Regions from separate parts of the Homo sapiens genome. Here region 1 is linked to region 2. Evidence: promoter capture Hi-C in 16 types of primary human blood cells and fetal thymus (Javierre and others, 2016). All regions are on one chromosome and are shown on one strand. The core of a region is centred on a gene start or on the middle of the fragment in contact, and the rest is flanking DNA. Distances in the headings are between cores, read along the strand shown. Region 1 holds the start of PEX2 (peroxisomal biogenesis factor 2). Region 2 holds the start of NCOA2 (nuclear receptor coactivator 2).

The links. The method cuts DNA at HindIII sites, captures the fragments that hold promoters and counts their contacts. A CHiCAGO score of 5 or more calls a contact.
Region 1: a contact is called between the fragment with the promoter of PEX2 here and the fragment with the promoter of NCOA2 in region 2, in 1 of 17 cell types (non-activated CD4 T cells). The highest score is 10.8, in non-activated CD4 T cells.

What each region holds. Positions count from the first base shown.
Region 1 is chr8:76,998,370-77,001,814 of GRCh38, forward strand. PEX2 (peroxisomal biogenesis factor 2) reads right to left here and starts at 1,709. Exons shown (of 4, transcript NM_000318.3): 1 at 1,621-1,709. RefSeq lists an enhancer at 1,704-1,998. The HindIII fragment of the contact is 1,935 bases long and covers 1,680-3,445 here.
Region 2 is chr8:70,402,532-70,405,876 of GRCh38, forward strand. It overlaps NCOA2 (nuclear receptor coactivator 2), which reads right to left and starts at 1,277. Exons shown (of 23, transcript NM_006540.4): 1 at 1,169-1,277. RefSeq lists silencers at 1-533, 564-853, 894-1,203, 1,894-2,053 and an enhancer at 1,674-1,793. The HindIII fragment of the contact is 4,231 bases long and covers 1-2,569 here.

The sequences.
Region 1 (3,445 bases), core at 459-2,958, 6.6 Mb after region 2:
AAACTTTTATGGCTAAAATAAAAGGATATGGAGAAGAAGGAATAATAAATTCTAATTCTGTTCATAAAGAAAAACATTTCAAATTTGTATTGATAAAATAAATTGAAACAGAATAGGGACATATTTGTAGCTTTTAGAAATAAATTAGCTGTGAATATATTATTTTTAAAAACTGTAATAAATGTACATTGAGTACAAATGAATAATTATCCCAAAAACCAGAATTTTAATGCTAGAAGAAAAGGCAGATCATCTCGTTTAAGACATAAATTTAATCTTCTTAACAAGAACCTTGTTATTCAAGCGGAACACCTAAATGGCTGCTCTTGTTAAAATAAACCTGAGGGTGGGCTTGCTTTGTCTCTCCCTGCACGGCTCCAGAAAATTTCTACACAAGTTCTCCTATGGAACAGTTTTAAAACCCCAGCTTGAGTACTAACACTAGTTTCTAAAAATAAGGAGAATACGGCCAAGAGGTAAAATTGTACAAAGGCAACTAGAGTCAGGACTAGAATCCAACTGTCTTGATTTAGTCTAATACTCTTCAGTCTACTAGTCTAGTATTCGCTCTATGTCCTGTTACTTCTATTTTTTTTTTTAAGAAAAAAATATGAAGGGTTTTTTTTTTTGACTCTGTAAATAATTCTTTCAAATCTCTTTCTGGCTCAAGATCACTCAACTGTAATCTTTCTGGAAACAAGTAATTGATAATATAGGTGAGATCAGATAAGTTAAAAGAGCCACCCCAAGTTCATTCTGTTCAGGATTAAGTAAAGGTAACACTTTAGGGGAAGGTGTTTAGACTACAAGCTGCGGTGTTGTGAGCGCCCAAGTATCATTTAATTGTCCGAAACGTCAAGATAAAATATTTCCGAGGGGCATCACGGAAGTTTAACAGAATGTGTTAGACTTGAACGTTCAACAGCTTGCTCATTTTGCCAAAAGCCCTTTCACTAAATGTGGGAAATTTGGAAAATGGTACCTCAATAAATAAACAAACAACGATTTTTAATTTAAGAACCCAGGAAAAAATGTTAACAATTCTCACATTCAGATTTCTTATCAAAAGTCAACGTGAAATATAACTAATTTATCGCAAGCAATTTTATCAGAAACTTTTCATTATCTCTTCCTCCATAAGAAAACCAAACTGCATTTACGTGCGCTTTCAACAGTGTTAGAAAACTAAGCACTCAAATTTTTTGTACTACATATAACACTTTACATGAACTTTCAGATATTAAGTAAAGTTTGGATCCTCAATTCTTTATAAAGCCGTTTATAAGAGGTAAATATCTTCACGACCGCCAAATGAGAGAAAAAGATTTCGAAGTTCGTCTCTTAAGTTACTACGTGGAATGCAGAGGGGCTCAACTGCAGCTGTGTGTGTGTTTATTTTTAATGCCGCGATCCTAAAAACATCTTTAGGAGTTTAGGTTTGCTTCACTGCCTTTCCCAAAATTCAGCAGCTTTGATTTGCCTTTTCCAGGGAGACAGGAAGCCAATAAACAGGGAAAAAAAAGCAAACGGCGACAATTACAAGGTCGTGAAACTCCACGACCTCCCAGCTGAAAACAAGACCTCGGGTTTGCACTCCGGCTCTCTAGGGCAGACACTGACCTTAGGAGTCTGCGAAACGCCCACGCTCCACGTAACTTTCTCTGAAACATTCTCTGGAAAGCTTGTCTTTTCCTAGCCGAATCTGGATTACCAAGGCTTCCGGAACTCGCAGGCTTCCGGAGCGACGCAGGAGCCGGAAGTGGCTGAAAAAAAAAAGAAAAAGTTACACCAACGAGAACTGCGCTTTAGCGGCGCTGCTGAAGGCACTGGATGGCCAAACAACCGCGAACGCCGACAAGCCGAAGAGCCGAAGGGCCGAAAAGCCGAAGCGGACACCCGCGCGCGGTGATTGGCCGGTTGGCCGGAAGAACTCTGTCTCTGATTGGCAGGAGAGTCACGAACCGGTCAGCCCCGGGTCAGGGGCCGCAAGTGAGGACACTACAAGTGTCGAGGGGCCTAGGGGAAGCCGGGGCTTGGGAGGGCAGGGCTTTCTCTGCTTGCGGACATCGCGAAGGGCCTCTGGCAGGCGCCGCCGGGTGGCGGCGAGACGCCTCCGCGCCTCCGGGGTTCCTTGTTCGCTGTCGGAGGAGGACCGGCTGAGGGATGGCCTGGTGGGGAGGGAGCCCTCGGGCAGGTGGCTGCGTCGGGCCTGGGGCAGTTGTGCTGCGCTTGGAGACCTGCCCGCCCTCGGGGCCTGTGTGCACAGGGAGGATAGGCTGTTTATCTCTGCAGGCTCAGGAAGGCAGGTAGCTGGCCCGTCAGTCATCCGCCCTGCAAAGCGCTCCCGAGAGACCCCGTAGAGCGGGCCAGCGCGCGCCTGGCCTGAGGTTTCCCGCCCCCGGAGGCCCTCACATCTCCCCGGTAACGCTTAGGAATTCGGGCAGCCAGCTCGCCTACCCCTGGGGAATCGAGGCAGAGCTTCTGGGAATGGGGTCTGAGGGAAGAGTGCTCACCAGGCAGTGACATGTAGCCGTTGAGGATCGCCACTGCCTTCTCGTTCTGTGGTATGAATGGCAGTGTCTCTCTAGAGAGTTAGTGCTTAAGTTTGAATGATGGCAGGCACTTCAGGATTCCAGCACGTAGTAGGGTTTAAGAACGTCTTAGTTCTTACCTCCAGTCTCGACTCACCGTTCCTACAAGGAACACTCACTTCTACGAAAGCTCTATTAGACATTCGAGGGAGAGCTTATACTGTAGAACCAGTGTTATTAGGAAAGTTTTTTTTTTTTTGCTTGTATTTTTATTTCAGAAACTACCCATGGAGCAGAGTTGCTAAAATAAAATTTATTAACTCTAATGCTATCCAAATTGTGAAACAATGGTACAAATGAGATAGAGTAGAAGCTACAAATTGATAGAGTATGTAGTTCACTTAGGGGTTTGGGAGTGGATTTTCTAGAGCTGCAACTGTCCAGTGTAGTAGTCACTGGCCACCTGAAAAGTGGCTAGTCTGAACTGAGGTCTGCTCTAAGTGTAGAACATGCACCAGATTTCTAAAGCGTGGTCTGAAAAGAAAAAGAATGTAAAGTATTTCATTAATTTTATATTGCTTACATGTCAAAATGAGAATGTTTTGGAAAATTTTAAATTACGTGGCTTCCATTATATTTCTATGGATACTGCTGTTCTAGAGAGTAAAAAAATCTCACTGAAGAAGAGTAGGCCTTTCGTTTAGCAACTGTGAAGAAAACCAACCACGCTGCACCTCTCAGGTAGCCTACAGATGTGCTGTGCTTCACTTAATTTTTGAGAGGGACGGGGGAAAATACACACAAAGACTTGATTGACATAGAGGACATTTTCAGAAAGCAAATTCTGGTTCATAGAGCCTTATGTATGTCATGTGAACATCACACAGTAGCGAATGAAAATAATAAAGATATCA
Region 2 (3,345 bases), core at 27-2,526:
CCCCCGAGGGGAGGAGGCGGGGAGCGCAGCCGGCAGCGACGACCCCGGCCCCCTCCCCCAGCACCCCCCAGGGGCCCGAGAGGGCCGGGTCCCCGTGCCCGGGGCGTGACCGTCGCGAGGCGGCCACAGGGCCCCTCCCGCTTCCCGCCTGGGGCCCCGAGGGCCTGTCCCTTCAGGGGCGGAGAGAAGGGGGCGAGAAAAGGGGGCGCTGGCGAGCCAACCCGGAACCTCCCGGTCCGCCTCCCGCCCCCGGCCCCGGCCCCAGCGCGCCTCCTGCATACACGCCCGCACCCAGAAAGTTCAGTCAGGGGCGAGCCCGGCTCGGCGCCGCCGGGGCCCGGCCCCCGGCTCCCCGCCCCCACCACGGCCCGGCCTGCTCGGCCCCAGCGCGCCGCCCGCCCCGCCCGCCGCAGCTCCTTCCCGTCCGCCCGCGGTGCTCGGCGCCCCTCGCCCCCCACCCCCGGGGCTGACACGGGCCCGGGCCACCCGCCGGGCCGCGGCTCCCCTTCCCCGCCCCGCGCTGCAGCTCGCCGGCCGCCCCGACACCCCGCTTCACCTTCACACACCCCCAGCACTTCCCGAGTCCTGCCTCCCCTCGCCCGGCTCCCACTCTCCGCTGCAGCCGCTCCGCGCTTCCATTAAAGAATGCACCTTCCCAGGATTCACCTTCTCGGCTCTGCCGCGCTGCCCCCGAGGGGTTAGAGCCTCGGTCTCCGCCGACCCCGCACCGGGCTGGGCAATGGGCACTCGCTCCTCGGGGCGGGGGCCGCGCCCGCACCCCCGGCCGCGCCTCGGCGCTCACCTCTCGCCCGCGCCGCGGGCTGCAGCCTCCGCCCGCCTCGCGCTCCGGGACTCGTCTCCTGAGCTCTCGCAAGGCGCTGGAGCGCCTCCTTTCTCTCCCGGGGACTCCGCGTCTCCCCGTCGCTTCCCGCCCTCCCCACCCCCAAGCCCCAACTCCCCAGCGTCGCTGCGCCTCCGGGATGCAACTCCCGTTTTCCGCGCACTCCGGCGGCGGTCCCCGCACACAAAAACAGCCTCTCGGAGGCGCACGGCTCTGTCGGAGCTCGGCGCAGGAAGGGCAGTCGCGGCCGGGGGTGGGGACGCGGCGCCCCCCGCCTGCCGCCCGCCCCCCGCCCGCCCTCGCGGCCCCGGGGGAAGGCGCGGTTACCGGCTCGGGTCGGTCACGCCGTCAGGTGCCGGCTGCCGTCGGCGCTGACCTTCGCCGCCGAAGCTGTAGCCGAGGCTGCGGCCGCCATGTTCCCGTGTTAATAACTGCTGCCTGGTTGTTTATTTCAATGGAGATCCTCCCCCAACTCCCTCCTCCTCCTCCTCCTCCTCCTCCTCCTCCGCGTCTCCGCACTTGCGGAGAGACAGACAGCGCGAGCTCGCGAGCAGGGGAGGGGGCTCGGGAGCCAGGCCGTCCCTCCCTCTGCCTCCCCGGCAGTGGCCGCCGCCAAGTCCTGTCACCGGGAAAAGGACGGGGCGGAAACTTGCCTCTCGCGCCCCCGAGGAAGGGGCAAAGGTGGACGCAGGGTTGTCCGGGGAGCAGCCCCTGGCCGCGGGGTCCGCAGCATCTCCGTCGGCAGAGTCCTCTGAGAAGGCGGCCCGGGGAGAGGTGAAGAAGAGTAAGGGGACAGGGGACAAAATGGGTGACTGTGGTAGAGGGAGGGTGACCTAGAGGTGACTGGAACTGAAGAGAGAGTCAACAGAGGACTGCATGGGAGGGCAAAGGGCAATGCCAAAAAGAAAACTAGCGACTGGGACGGGCCTGGGCCGCTGAGTTAGAGGCAGTGGGGCCTGGGGGCTGCAGACGGCAGGGACGGTGCCCCAGGACGAAGATCGGGGAGAGCCGAGTTCCAGGGTCGCCAGCAGAGGACCCTCGCGCCCGTCCGGCCGGACCCTTCGGCCAGCACCCTGCACCCCCTCGGGCGCACCTCACCCTACCCAACTCCCGGTCCTGCCGCTGCTCCCCGGAGGCGCCCCGCATCCGTCAAGTCCCCTACGGCTCCAACAGGGAGAGGCTTCTCCCATTGCAGTCCTAGCTCCAGAGGGGATGGAGAGGCGCGACTGTGGGAGCTGGAAGGGGCACCACCCGGCAATTGCGGGATAAAGCAAATGCTGCACACAGAGTGTGAAACTTAACCTGGTTGAGAATTTTCGGCACATCATGAAATCATAAGTTTGTATTGGAAAGTCCATTCTCTAGACATCCGTGAACAAAGTACTGAGGGGACGTAGGAGATTGGCACTGAAAATGCGAGAACCCCCATTTAAGTGTTACTTAGACCAATCTGTTTTACGCTTTGGAAAAGCAAGTTTTTTTTCCAACTTATACGGTAATTAGTTGAAAAAAAAAACTTTTGTTTAATGGCAGTTATCAAACTATGAGAGGAACATATTCCCTGATTTTAATCTTATAATGAGAAAGGTCACTTGCGGTAGACAATAAGAGTGTTTATTGAACACTTACTGTGAATCTGACTGTGCTAGGTGATGTATATATGCTATAGGCCTTAATCCTCAAACCTTCCGAAGTCATTGCCGCTTTTCACTTCACACAAAAAATTGAAGCTTAAAGTAATTTGCCCAGGGTCACAGCCAGTAGTTGGAGAGGATGTGAGCCCAGTTCTGGTGAGCTCCAAAGCCCATGCTTTTAAACATGTCTTCATCCTAAAATTTGTGGGTGTACCGCCAATTTTATTTGGGAAAAGAATAAAAAAAATGTGTGGGGTGTGTGTGTCTGTGTTTGTTTGTGGATAGAAAATGCTTGGAAGCCTATAACAACAAATGTTAGCGCTGGGGAGTGTAAGAAGTGGGTGATGAGGCACTTCCACTTTTTATTTTGCACACCTATCTAATGTTTGAAATGTTTGCATTGACTATGTATTAATGTATATTTTTAAAGGTTTTTTTTTTTTTTTTTTTTTTTTTTTTTTAGCTAGCTGGAATAATAGAATTATGTTCCCAAAGCGTTGAGAGGAAATGGAGAGTTTGTTTATGGCCTATCTTCTGCTAATACCAGTCTGTAGCTTGTCTACAATGGGGTAGTAGTCACCTGAGGTTTGTCACAATTCTGAACTCCCGATTTGCTTTCCTGTCCTCACCCCCAACTGTGAGTTATCAGGAGTTGTGATAATAAATAAATAAATAAATAAAAATTTAAAAAAAAGATTCTCCTTCTTGCTTGCTATCCCTCCCATTTTGGCAGAAGTCCAGAGTCTATCAGTCCTCTGCAATCGTAGATTTCACACTTTTTAAAACTACCCATGATACCTCTGCAAACAAATGACTCCCCCCATTGCATTCCCGTATTACCCAATAAAACGTCTTACGACGGCTGAAGAC